4 separate regions of the Homo sapiens genome follow, and all the other regions are linked to region 1. Evidence: promoter capture Hi-C in human tissues and cell types (Jung and others, 2019). All regions are on one chromosome and are shown on one strand. The core of a region is centred on a gene start or on the middle of the fragment in contact, and the rest is flanking DNA. Distances in the headings are between cores, read along the strand shown. Region 1 holds the start of ZFYVE28 (zinc finger FYVE-type containing 28). Region 2 overlaps NSD2 (nuclear receptor binding SET domain protein 2). Region 3 overlaps LOC124900839. Region 4 has its middle 5.7 kb from the start of NICOL1.

Region 1 (3,226 bases), core at 185-2,684:
CCGTGACCTCCCCCAAGATCTCAGGGCCCGGGCCTCCCCGCTGCGCCGGCCCCAGGGTGCCACCCTCGGACGCCCAGATGCGCCCTGGACCCTGCGCCGGGATCCTGAACACCGCCGCGCCTTCATCCCGCGCCGAGCGCGCCCGGCCCTGCTCCGGCTGCAGCGGGCACGAGCCCCAGGCGGGCGGCGGGGACGCAGCGCCCGCAGTGCGACTGGCGCAGCCGCTGAGGCACGGGGCGCGCCGCCCGGACCCCGACCCCGCGGCGCTAGGAGAGGCGCGGGCGCCGGCTGGAGAGCCGCACCTCCCGCCCCGCCGAGGCTGCTGGCCACGGGCGCGCTCGCCCCAAGGGCCGGGCGGAGGACCTGTCCCGGATTCCAGAGGACGTGGGTGGGGAAGGGACAAGGATAGGGACAAGGGAGGGGACGCGAACTGGGCCGAGGTGTGGGTCAGTCCTGGTTCGGGAAGGGAGGCCGTTGGCAGGGCCATCAGGATCCTCTCTGGACATGGAAGGACGGGTCTGCCCTGGACCCAGGGATTGGGAAATGTGGGTTCTCTCAGAACCTGGGGAAGTGGGGAGAGGGTCTGTTCTGGAGTGCGGAGGGAGATCTATTCCGGGCCCAGGACAATGGGGGTGGGGGCAGGACGGGAATGAGGGGGCATTCCTGGTGCAGGGAGGGGAGACGGAGAAGTAGTAGGGGGTCTGCTCCGGGCCCGCGGGCTGGGGACCACGAAGTGTAGGAGGGCACCGTCCAGGACCGGGATGAGGAGGGAGAGGGGCCCGTTGTGGCCCTGGATAGAGGGGGAGGGAAAGTGCGCCCCGGCCCGAGAGGAGGAGCAGGAGGGTCAGTCCTGGACCCGGGCTTAGGAAGCCGGGAGGGAGGTTCGGATCCGCCTCAGAGACAGGGCGATGAAGATCTGTCCAAGTCTTGGAGTGGAGGGAAGGATGTCGGCGGTGGGGGAAGAGGCCGGCCACGGACAGGGAAAGGGAGTCCGTCTTGTAGGGCGGACGGGCGGTCCTGGGGAAGGGAGAGGCCGCGACGCGGGGGGCGTCCGGCCCGAGCGGGGCCGCTCACCTTGGGTTTGTAGAGCCACTTTCGGAACCTGTTCATCATCGCCGCGCCGGCCCTGGCCGGACTCCGGGCGGCCCTCGCCCTCCGCAGCGCTGCGCCCGGGCCCGGCTGAGGCGCGGGGCGGACGCGGAGGCACGGCCGGAGCCCCCGCGCTGTCGCAGGGAGGCTGGCTAGCGAAGCCCGGAGCGCCGAGCGGGCGGCGGGCAGGTGCGCGGGGCAGGTGCGCGGCCCTGAGTATGCTCTGCAAGCGGCGCGCCGGGCAGACCTCAGACCCGGGAGTGGGCGCTCGGGCGCACGGACAGACGCGGGCACGGGGGCGCGCGGCTCCTCGCTGCTCACTGACACCCAGCGCTCCGCTGGTCACGGCCGCCCCGCGCCGCACATGCGCCTAGGGCGCCGCGAGCCCCGGGCCCACCGCGCGCTGCGGGCGGGGCGGGCGGGGCGGAGGCGGCCCAATCCCTGCGCGGGCGCCGCACCCCGCCCGAGGCGCGCTCCCTGCCGGCGGGGCGACCCGCCGCGCCCGGGTATCCAAGAAACTACAAGTCCCGAAAGGCATGGCGGGGAGGTGGCGCCCAGGGCTTGGCGTCCCGGGCCGCGCCGCGGCGCTGTGTATTGTGGGAGTTGTAGTCCACCCGATGGCGGCGGAGCGTGCCGCCGGTTGCTAGGTGACGACGCCAAACAGCCGCGGCGTCCTGCCTACCGGGAGCTGACGGACGACGACTGCCAACACCTTAGCCCCAGCTGGCCCAGGAAACTGCTGCGGTGGCAGGTGGCGGCGGCAGGAGGGCTCGGCTGCCCCGAGCGCCCGCCAGGTACGGGGGCGGGACAGGTGCGGGGCGACGCGCCGCCGATTTTCATGACCTGCCGGCCGGTTCCCTCTCGCTCGCTGCTCATCTTGCTTCTCCCAAACACCTCTTCTGTCTTCTTCCCAGCTCCCCGATGAAAGTGAACGGTGCCTCTTTTTTTTTTTTTAAATCACCACTATCAGCGGTGCGTTCTAAAAAGATACTCTTCCGCCCTCGCTACTCCCCCCAGTGGTGCCCTAATTTGTACCTTAAAACGCTCACCTCAATCTGAGTACCTGCTATGTGTCAAGCAGAGAGCTAAAAACCCACACGTGGCCTCACTTAAACTTCCCATTGACAGCCAGAGAAGCAGGCACAACGAGGCCGGCGTGCCCTGGCTGTGGGGGTTGCATCCAGATCACGGCGGATCTGGGTCGGCCTGACCCCACAGCGCTGCACTTTTCCCTGCCGCACCACCACCACGTCTCTGGCTTGTTGTGAAACGTGCAGATGTAAGACACAGGAGATGGAAGTCATGCCCCCCTCGGTTCAGAATTGAGAAGTCTGACCTGTTCCTGCTTGTCCTCACTGGCCAGTGCCAGGTGCTCAGAAAGGTCCGTGGGCTCCATGACCACTTTATTCCAACAGACGCGATGTGAGCCTAGGCGCGCTGGCATCTAAGATTTCTCTTAGTTGGGGGTAGGGTCCATGTTTATTTTTGAGTAACTGATTGATTTTCCCTACTCTCCTCTTCCTACCACCCAGTCGACCCTCTGAAGGGCAAAACCCCTCTGGAGTTTCCCCTTATCTCCAATTCCTTCCCACTTGTTCTTTCTGGAAACTACTCCCATCAGATTTTCACCCAACCACTCCTCTGAAGCTCTTTATCAAAGTCATCCTTGACCTTGATGTTGCAAAATCCGATGATCGGGGTCAGCGCTCATCTCTTCCTTGAACTGTCACTACCACGTGACCCAGCCGACTGTGCCCTCTCCGTGACACAGCATCCTCACTTGGCTGAAACAGATCCCACTGTCCACTTCTCCTCCTCGCTCCTGGCCACTCCTGCTTGATCTCCTTGGCTGGATGCCTCCCCTGCTCACCGACCTCTCAACACTGGAGACCCTGGACTCAGTCCTTGGAACCTACTCTATCCACTCCCTCCCTGGGGGATTTCCTACAGTTACATGGTTTTATAAACAACCATTTTCTCCCAAACTTCTCAAAACCTATATCTCTAGCCTCAACCCTGAAACTCCAGACCTGTTTACCTGTTCTTCACCATTTGGACGCCTAACAGATCCTCTCAAATTTAACGTGTCCCAAACCACACTCTCAGTCTTCCCCCATAAAACCTGCTGCTCCCAAAG
Region 2 (3,226 bases), core at 727-3,226, 500 kb before region 1:
GGAGAATTACTTGAACCCAAGAGGTGGAGGTTGCAGTGAGCCAAGATCGTGCCACTGCACTCCAGCCTGGCGACAGAGCGAGACTCCGTCTCAAATTAAAAAAAAAAAGCATTCTCTTTAAAATCATGAACGAGGGCCAGGCACAATGGCTCATATCTGTAATCCTAGCATTTTGGGAGGCTGAGACAGGTGGATCAATGAAAGCTGGGAGTTTGAGACCAGCATGGCCAACATGGTGAAACCCCGTCTCTACTAAAAATACAAAATTTTACCAGCTGTGGTGGCGAGCGCCTGTAATCCCAGCTACTTGAGAGGTTGAGAAAGGAGAATCGGTTGAACCTGGGAGACGGAGGTTGCAGCGAGCCAAAATCACGCCAATGCACTCCAGCCTGGGCAACACAGCAAGACTCTGTCTCAAAAAAAAAAAAAAAAAAAGAATAAGACAGGAAACCATTTTTCACCATTTAATAAACGTTGTACGGAAAATAGTAGCCAATATTAGGCCGGGCGCGGTGGCTCACGCCTGTAATCCCAACACTTTGGAGGCCGAGGTGGGTGGATTACTTGAGGTTAGGAGTTCCAGACCAGCCTGGCCAACATGGTGAAATCCCATCTCTACTAGAAATGAAAAAATTAGCCAGGCGTGGTGATGCGCGCTTGTAATCCCAGCTACTCAGGAGGCCGAGGCAAGAGAATTGCTGGAACCTGGAGGCAGAGGTTGCCGTGAGCTGAGATCACACTACTGCACTGCAGCCTAGACAATAGAATGAGTCTTCGTCTCCAAGAAAATACTAGCCAGTATTATAAAGGAATAAATAAAGCTGTCATTGTTTGCAGAAGTCTATGTAGAAAACTCAAGAGAATGTACAGAAAATCTTTTAGAATTAATAGAGTTCACCAGGATATAAAATTAACATACAAGTGCAGCATCAAAGAGGAAATGTAATGTTAAAAAAGATACCATTGATAATAGAAACCAAAATGTCAGGTACTGCGGAATCAATATTACGAAATATGCATGTAACTTTAGAGAAAAATAACTGATATTTTAGCAGACCTCAATAAAGATGTATTTATATATAGGAAGATTCAAGCTTCTGAAGTTGTCAATTCTCCCTTTAATAATCTATAAATTCAGTATAATTCTAATAAAACTTCCAACAGGAATTTATTTGCCCTTTGTAAGTGGATGCTGCTGTGGCCACATTTGAAGAGAGGCTTGGCCTGAGGATTTGCTCTACCAGATAGGAAGTTATCTTATTTAAAATAGCAGTATTTGGCCAGGTGTGGTGGCTTACGCCTGTAATCCCAGCACTTTGGGAGGTCAAGGCAGGCGGATCACCGGAGGTCAGGAGCTCCAGACTAGCCTGGCCAACATGATGAAACCTTATCTCTACTAAAAATATAGAAATTAGTTGGGCATGGTGGCAGGCGCCTGTAATCCCAGCTACTCGGGAGGCTGAGGCTGGAGAATTGCTTGAACCTGATAGGCGGAGGTTGCAGTGAGCTGGGATTGTGCCATTGTACTCCAGCCTGGGTGACAGAACAAGATTCTGTCTCATAAAAAATAAAATAGCAGTATTCACGCAGGGCAGTGATATGGCCCAAGACGGGGCCCAGAACAGGCTCTCGAGCATGTGGACATGGATGGGAAAGCGCTGCAGGCCAGTTGCGTGGGAGGTCTGCACTGGACGTGGTGCTGGGACCACTGTGATTTATGAACTTGGCCAGCATGGGAGAGGAGCTTTGTCACCATGGGAGAGGGAAGGATTTCTTAAATAAGCCAAACTAATAACAGGCTATAAAGGCTATAAAACTATGTATGTTAAAATGAAAATCTAGGCCAGGCATGGTGACTCACGCCTGTAATCCCAGTACTTTGGGAGGCTGAAGCGGGAGGATTGCTTGAGCCACTGCACCACTTCAGCCTGGGTGACAGAGACCCTGGCTCAAAAAAAAAAAAAAAAAAAAAATTCTTATGTGTCAAGGACACCATCGACACAGTGAAAGGACAAATTCTGTAAAGAGCCGAAACAATTCTGAAGGAGAAGGGCAAGTTTCTTGGAGAGCCAGTAAGTGCATGAAGAGATGCTGCTCAACTGCGGCCATGCCCAGGAAGCTGTATGTTACGATCCTGGTGGGATGGTCCTTCACAGTCATCCTTCACAGTCATCAGGTGAGCAGACATCAAACTCAGAACAGCCAGGGATTGAGAAGATGAGCAACAGTGGGACTCCTCATACAATGCTGGTGAAACATCATTTATTACACCTGTTTTGAGAGAAATTTGGCAAGATCTAGTGAAATTGAAGATGTGCCTTTTTTTCTCTTACAGTTTTACTCCTAGATATTTACCCTAGAGTAATTTTGCCCTTGCACGCAGAGAGACCACAGTGTCCAAAACCAAAAAGCTACCCAGTGACAGACTATGGTATGTTCCTACAGTGTAACTACACATCAATTAAAGTGAACTCATTGGATGTCAAAGCAGAAACAAATTGCTGAAGGGTATGCAGATTCTATCACTTGTGTAGTTTGAAAAGGGCCACATACCCACAACTGAGTTTAACTTATCCCTTTCTCTGCGTCCATCTAAAAAGTGTAAGTGGGCAGCTGTGAAGGTATGTGCCTCTCTCCAGGAGCCAAGAGGTCTATCCAGGCAGGAGCCATTAACACCTGGTGGAGTAGCTGTGGTCATTGTTGGATATAAAATGATACAAAGCAGGCCAGGCGCAAGGTGGGAGGATCACTTGAATCCAGGAGTTTGAGACCAGCCTGGGCAACATAGCAAGATCTTATCTCTACCAAAAATAAAAATAAAATAAAATGGTATAAAGTAATCAGCAATGTGTGTACAGCCACCGTTTCAGGCATGTTGGGGGAGGGTGCAGTGGCAAGCTCTGAATGGACACTCCAGTGTTTGACAGCTAGGCCTGCGCAGGGTTGGTGAGGTGCTGTATGCTCTTGGGCCCTGGAAGCAGGGTAAGGCGGTGTCGGGTGGGAACCGCCCCGTCAGCCACTCTGGTATGTTGCTCGGCTGTGTCTCTACAACCTGTTCACTAGTTTGGAATTGTGAAAAAAATGGGTACCTGAGAATTGAAGCCACTGTCCAAAGACCACCCTATTGGCTTTTTGGGACCCAAATTGATCTCAGATGGTCCTTCTAGTGCTAAGAAATGTGCTAAAAATGAAAGTCTGGATTGGCACTATACTAAAAGTAATATAA
Region 3 (3,226 bases), core at 258-2,757, 400 kb before region 1:
GAGGCCTTTCAAATCTCAGTGCGGCCCTGCCTGCAAGCTGCTAGAGGCTACCTTTGCCTGCATGATCTATCAGAGACTTCTCTGGCTCTTTCCGTTTTAGGACTCCCTCCTGACTTCCTGGAAATTGTGTGGGTCCAGGCTCTGTTTTCTGGTTTGTAAATCCAGAAAGACAGTCAGTTTTCTGTTAGGGTTATCTGCTTGCACCATGCCGGGGCTCCCTAGCTGTCCTCAGGCTTAAGCTTTGAAAATGGCCTTAAAACTCACCAGGATCAGTCAGCTGTGGTGGCTCATGCCTGTGATCCCAACACTTTGGAAGGCCGAGGCAGGTGGATCACCTGAGGTCAGGAGTTCAAAACCAGCCTGGCCAACATGGCAAAACCCCATCTCTACTAAAAATACAAAAATTAGCCGGGCACAGTGGTGGGCACCTGTAATCCCAGCTACTCAGGAGGCTGAGGCAGGAGCATTGCTTGAATCCGGGAGGCAGAGGTCGCAGTGAGCTGAGATCACACCATTGCACTCCAGCCTGGGCAACAGAGCAAGACTTTGTCTCAAACAAACAAACAAATTCACCAGGCTGGTCCTTTCCTCCAAGTTTTTACTTCCCTCCAAAATCCGCTTGCTTTGGTTTATGCTCCAAAGCCTTTAATCAGTGGGAGGGTTGGCCTGTTAGCTATCCCGCCATACTTTTCACTGTTACATGAGTCCATTAAGTGATATGTTTGCTTATTTTTATTCTTATTTTTTTGAGACGGATTCTCACTCTGTCGCCCAGGCTGGAGTGCAGTAGTGTGATCTTGGCTCACTGCAAGCTCCGCCTCCCGGGTTCTGGCCGTTCTCCTGCCTCAGCCTCCTGAGTATCTGGGACTACAAGTCGCCCGCCACCACGCCCGGCTAATTTTTTGTATTTTTATTAGAGATGGGGTTTCACCGTGTTAGCCAGCATGGTCTCGATCTCCTCACCTCGTGATCCGCCCGCCTCAGCCTCCCAAAGTGCTGGGATTACAGGTGTGAGCCACCATGCCCGGCCATGTTTGCTTATTTTTTAAGGTGCCCTAGATCAAATTAAAGAAGTTCCCTTCTATTCCTAATTTGCTACAGGTTTTTAAAAATCATGACCAACATTTAATTTTATCAAATGTTCTTATAAAATGTTTTGTTGTGCATACTGAGATGATTGTATGATTTTTTCACCTTTATTTTGTAAATGTGATGAATTACATTGATTGCCTTTCAAATTACATAAACCTTACTTTCCTAGAATAAGCCCAACTTGGACTATGTTATTCTTTTTTACACGTTGCTAGATTTCGCTTGTTAGTATTTTATCTAGACTACTAATGCTTTGTTCATGAGGAGAGCCTTTACAGTGTTGGGTTAAGTTTATGCAGCCTCTTGCAGTGAGTGGATCCCTCTTCTCACCTTACCTGGGAGAAGCCCTCTAGGTCATCACCACACCAGCAGCCAGTCCTAATCGGCTGCTACGACGGCTCCTGGAAGCTGGAGAAAAAAATGATGACAGAGAAAATGAGGTGGAAGGCTGGGCACAGTGGCTCATGCCTGTAATCCCAGCACTTTGGGAGGCCGAGGCAGGTGGATCATGAGGTCAAGAGATCAAGACCATCCTGGCCAACATGGTGAAACCCTGTCTCTACTAAAAATACAAAAATTAACTGGGCGTGGTGGCTCATGCCTGTAATCCCAGCTACACAGGAGGCTGAGGCAGGAGAATCGCTTGAACCTGGGAGGTGGAGGTTGCCGTGAGCTGAGATCGTGCCATTGCACTCCAGCCTGGGCACCAAGCGTGAGACTCCGTCTCAAAAAAAAAAAAAAAAAAAGAAAGAAAGAAAATGAAAAAAAAAAAGAGATGGAAAAGACAGAGGGGCCTTGGCAGAATATTGAGGACGGGATGAGAATTGAGACCACCTGTGTCCACTTAACTCTTGGGATCAAGAGCTGAGATCACCTGTGTCAACCTGATTTAATGATTATTTCCAGAAAATTCTTTCCAGGAAGATAAAACTAAATCAGTCAATCACTGTTTGCTTCAGGAAAATCTTGCAGAACAATGTATCCTGGCACATAGTTTACCAATCTGGGAACCAGCTCACTCATCAGAACCTTCATCTGGCTGTGTTTCTCTGTCCTGCACTGTTGGGCCATAAGCTCTGTCCTATCCCAATGAGTCCTTGCACTGAAAGACAGACCATCAACCATCTGAGCCCAGATTCTAAAATCCTATGAGGCCAGGCGCACTTTGGGAGGCTGAGGTGGGAGGATTGCGTGAGCCCAGGAGTTAGAGACCAGCCTTGGCAACACAGCAAGACTCTGTCTCTACAAAACACTAAAAAATTAGCCGGGTGTGGTGGAGCACACCTGTAGTCCCAGCTACTTGGGAGGTTGATGGGGGAGGATTGCTTGAGCCCAGGAGGTTGAGGCTGCAGTGAGCTGTGGTTGCACCACTGCAATCTAGCCCGGGCAACAGAGCAAGACCCTGTCTCTAAAAATAAACAAGTTTTCTGGGAGTCACTGTTGAGTTGTTGGCAGTGAATGGTCCTAAATGTTCCCATGGGATTCGGCTGAGACGGCCTCCCCAGGATGGCCTGAGACCTGCGACTGGAACCAGCACTCTCCCCGTGACCCTCTGGTTTTCTTTTGTGAAAGCTCCTTGTGTTCCAGGATTGAGAAAGCCTTCTTACGTGTGCTTTGATTATCTGATGAGATGAAGATTTTGATCCTTGTGGAAACTACTTTGCTCCTAACAACAATTCTGTGTGTCCGTCTGTCCTTGTCACCTTCTGTTGTGAAGAGCTCCTTGGGAAGAGGATGAACTAACACAGGTCTGAATGTCCCTGTCTCAAGGGCACCAAGGGCCAGTGAGTTCAGATCTCGTGAATCCACTGTTCTTATCTAACAAACTAAGTCCTCATCTGCACCTTCAGTTTTGCCTTGTCTTCAGACAGATTCTCTGCTCACGCCTGTCCTCCTAGGGAGACCCTCAGGTCAGCACTGCCTTCAGTGGAGGGTTTGCAACCCCAGGTTGCGAGCTCTTGCCAGGGTGTGTGGTGGCTGGGGTCCTGCCCTCAGGAGGGGTTTCTGCTCCCGGGTGGGCGTGCTCCCGCTGTGACCTCAGTGCTCCCCTTCCCGAATGGTGCCCTTCCCTCAAAGACCACTTCGGGGCCGGGCGCGGTGGCTCACGCCTGTAATCCCAGCACTTTGGGAGGCC
Region 4 (3,226 bases), core at 507-3,006, 370 kb before region 1:
CTCCCTGTGTTCCCTGTGGGCCCTGCCTTCCTCCCTGACCGCTGGGTATCCCCACTGCCCACCTGCACTCCAGCCCAGAGCCGCCTTTCTCTGGATCCTATGTCCTCTTCTCCCTGCTGCCATGTAGAAAAGCGTGTGGGAGGGACACTGTGTCTGCTTGTCTGGAAGGCGGCTGCTGCCACAGTCCATCTGCAGGTCACCCTTCCTACCGCAGGGCCTGTGCATGTGCCCTCTGCAGGGACGCATCCCTTGCCCTGGGACCGGCCTCACTCTGCAGCCCTGTGTCCCTCCTTAAATAGTTTATTTTTAAGAGAGGGCCTTGCTCTGTCGCCCAGGCTGGAATGCAGTGGCCTCATCACAGCTCCCTGCAGCCTCAACCTCCCAGGCTCAAGCAATCCTCCTCACTGGGCCTCCTGAGTAGTGGGGCCCACAGTGCCGGTACCAGCCCACAGAGCCCAGAGCCTGTAGCTGGGTCCCCAGCGCACGCCGACACACCCAGCCCCGCATTTTCTTCTAAGCGTTTGTCCCTGAGGGGTCCCGGGGTGTTTGTTTCTTTCCTCCCTGCCACCCCACACTGGATTGTGAAGCCCAGGAGGGTGAGATCTGCTCTTCCCAGGCGCCCCTGCAGGCCGCGCGCTCCCCCAGTGGAAGCTGCAGGGAGGCTGCCTGGGCCAGGGCTCTGGGAGGAGCTGGCTACAGGGGTCCCCCGCAGCCCCTCCCTTCCTGCTCTGGGGGTCTTTGGGACGCAGGGCTGCATGGGGTGTGGTTTTGGGCCATCTTCCCATGGAAGATGCGGGGTAGGGCGAGCCTGGGGCCTTGGGCGCCTTTCTGCCACTCCCACCTCCCGGCCTCCTGTGGAGCCCCGTTAGGCGCCCTGTGGGCCTGGGGACCGTTTTGCTTTTCCTCCTTCTTCCTCTGGCCTCCCGGTCTGTAGTTCCACTTCATAAGAGACCTCGGCCCGCCCCCCGCCCCGTCTCACCCGCAGCTCCGTTCCACCCCGCCCTGCTCCCTCCCACCGTGGCCAGACCCGCGCCGTCCTGGGGTTCCCCTGGGCTGCTCGGCGGCTCCCCGCGCCCCTGTTCTTCCTCCCCACGGACTCGGGCTCGGGGCGTTCGCGGCGGGATAGGAGCGCCCCGACGGCGTTGGAGGAGACCCCGCAAGTCCGGCCTGGGCGTGGGCTCGCGGGTCCCCGCTCTGCCGTGGGTGGGGCTGCACTGCCCACGTCCGCTGCGTTGGGTGTGCCCTCCTCGAACCTGAGTATCCAAGCGGCGGAGGCCCGGGCGCCTCTCAGCTTGGCATCTGAAATCCGGACGGTCTCGGCCGCTCCGCTCCCAGGAAGGCGAGGCCTGCATGGGCCAGGCGGGGCGCGGGGGCAACTGGGGCAGGGGCAGGGGTCTCCGGTGAGGAGGGCGCTCAGGGAAGCAGGAGACAGAGGCGGAGGTGGGCGGCCAGGGAGGACCGACAGGTCTGGGTTTCCGCTCTTGCCCCACAGGCTGACCTGACCGAGCCTCAGTTTCCTCCTCTGTAAAATGGGCCCTTGGCGACAGCCTGGGGCTGATATAGGCGCTCTGCTGCTGGCGCTGGGAGCACCGTGTGGCCTACGGGGTTCTCCCCTTGTCGTGGGGAGGGGCTCTAGGCCCCCCAGCCCCCACCCAGAGCAAGTACCATGGTCTCCCAGACCTTCCAGGCTGCTTCCTGGAGCCCAGCCCTGACCCTTCCAAGCTGACGGTGTTCTGGTGCCTTCCAGGTACCTATGAACCCGGGGCTGGAGCACAGGCCTCAGCTGACCATCAGGGCTACTGGGGGTCACATGGCCACGGGCTTTGGGTGACTTGTAGGGGCTGGAGGGTGAGGCCAGGCAGGCTGGTGGGAGGGAGTCTGCAGATGGAGACTGGAAGGGCCACCAAGGCGTGCTGAGCAGGCCTCTGTCTCTGGGCCTGGCTGCTGGGGCCGAGCAGTGGCAGGCTCAGGCTGAGGCTGTGGGGATGAGGTGGAGAGGGCAGGGGCCGGCAGAGGCTGTGGCCCTGTAAGGGCTGGACCGCTCTCCTCAGAGGTCACTCAGGCCTTGGGGTCTGGGTGGGGACACTGCTCAGGAGCTCCTGGACAGTGACCATGGCTTCTCCCCTCTCCTGGCCCCCATCAGAAGCATGACAGCCTGTTCCCCCAGTCTCTGCTCTGGAGCCCCAGGCCCCCATTCAAAGCCCAGCCTCATCTTCCTCCAGCCCCCTGGCTCTCCAGGCGCGCCAGCCCCTCACTTGCCTCCACTGCCTGGTTTTTCCTGCCCGGACCCCTTGCGTGCTGATCCCTCTGCTGGGACGCCCTTCCTGCCGTCCACGTGGCCGACCTTAGGACGACACTGCGGAGCTGCCCCTGTGGCTGGGCAGGGACCCTGGTCAGCACTTGAGCGTCGGGTGCAGGGGTTGTTGAATGGATCAGCGAGTTCCTTCGAGATTGTCCATGACCCACGTTGCCTCCCTGGAAGGCGTGAACCTAAAGGGTTGCCCTGACCCTGTGCCCCGGCGCCGCAGTCCTCAAACCTGGCTCCGGTAAACTCTCCACTTCACATTAATTTTGCCTCAGTTTTTTCCCTTTAGGTCAACATATCTGGCATAAGTCAGCAGGCTTCAGTGACCCTCTTCCCTGACCACCTGGGGCTCCTTCCAGGACTTGGGGGTGGTATGAGCAGGAACCCACCATGCTCCCCTCACTCCAGAGGTTTCCTGGGTGCACAGGGGTGAGTCCTCCTGAATTCAGAGCTTTGTTTTCTTTTTGGTTGACATCTAGATTTTATTTGGAGTGTTTTTTAAACCTGCTTTTAACAGAAAGAGGGCTTCAGTCTCTGTCTTTGGACAGGGGACTCAGATAAACAGAGAACTCCGCCTTCTCTGCCACTGCCTCAGGGCAACGGGTTTAGGGCCTGGTATGGGCACCAGTCTGGCACTGGTGGTTTCACATCTTTGGGCCTAAAGTTACACAGCAAGCTTTAAAAATTGCAACTGCTGGGCTGGGCGCGGTGGCTCATGCGTGTAATCTCAGCACTTTGAGAGGCCAAAGTGGATGAATCACCTGAGGTCAGGAGTTCAAGACCAGCCTAGCCAATATGGCGAAACCCCATCTCTACCCAAAATAAAAAAATTAGCTAGGCACAGTGGCACGCACCTGTAATTCCAGCTGCTCGGGAGGCTGAGACATGAGAATCGCTTCAACTCAGGAGGCAGAAGTTGCA

Evidence for each region. Contacts are between HindIII fragments. The study calls those that stand out against the background at their distance.
Region 2: a contact is called between a fragment that was not itself captured here and the fragment with the promoter of ZFYVE28 in region 1, in 1 of the 25 tissues and cell types used here (dorsolateral prefrontal cortex).
Region 3: a contact is called between a fragment that was not itself captured here and the fragment with the promoter of ZFYVE28 in region 1, in 1 of the 25 tissues and cell types used here (spleen).
Region 4: a fragment that was not itself captured here is called in contact with the fragment with the promoter of ZFYVE28 in region 1 in 1 of the 25 tissues and cell types used here (H1 embryonic stem cells).

Annotation. Positions count from the first base shown.
Region 1 is chr4:2,417,211-2,420,436 of GRCh38, forward strand. It overlaps ZFYVE28 (zinc finger FYVE-type containing 28), which reads right to left and starts at 1,435. Exons shown (of 13, transcript NM_020972.3): 1 at 1,075-1,435. The coding sequence starts at 1,113. It overlaps CFAP99 (cilia and flagella associated protein 99), which reads left to right and starts at 1,745. Exons shown (of 16, transcript NM_001193282.4): 1 at 1,745-1,883. RefSeq lists an enhancer at 1-154 and silencers at 1,160-1,319, 1,440-1,669, 1,910-1,959. The HindIII fragment of the contact is 18,624 bases long and covers 1-3,226 here.
Region 2 is chr4:1,921,366-1,924,591 of GRCh38, forward strand. The region is part of intron 5 of NSD2 (nuclear receptor binding SET domain protein 2); the gene reads left to right. Among named protein-coding and RNA genes, the nearest start is that of NSD2, 52 kb to the left of the region's middle. The HindIII fragment of the contact is 6,257 bases long and covers 1-3,226 here.
Region 3 is chr4:2,016,243-2,019,468 of GRCh38, forward strand. It overlaps LOC124900839, which reads right to left. Exons shown (of 4, transcript XM_047416543.1): 3 at 1,428-1,500. Among named protein-coding and RNA genes, the nearest start is that of NELFA, 8.9 kb to the left of the region's middle. The HindIII fragment of the contact is 5,535 bases long and covers 1-3,226 here.
Region 4 is chr4:2,046,049-2,049,274 of GRCh38, forward strand. No RefSeq gene overlaps it. Among named protein-coding and RNA genes, the nearest start is that of NICOL1, 5.7 kb to the left of the region's middle. The HindIII fragment of the contact is 3,213 bases long and covers 151-3,226 here.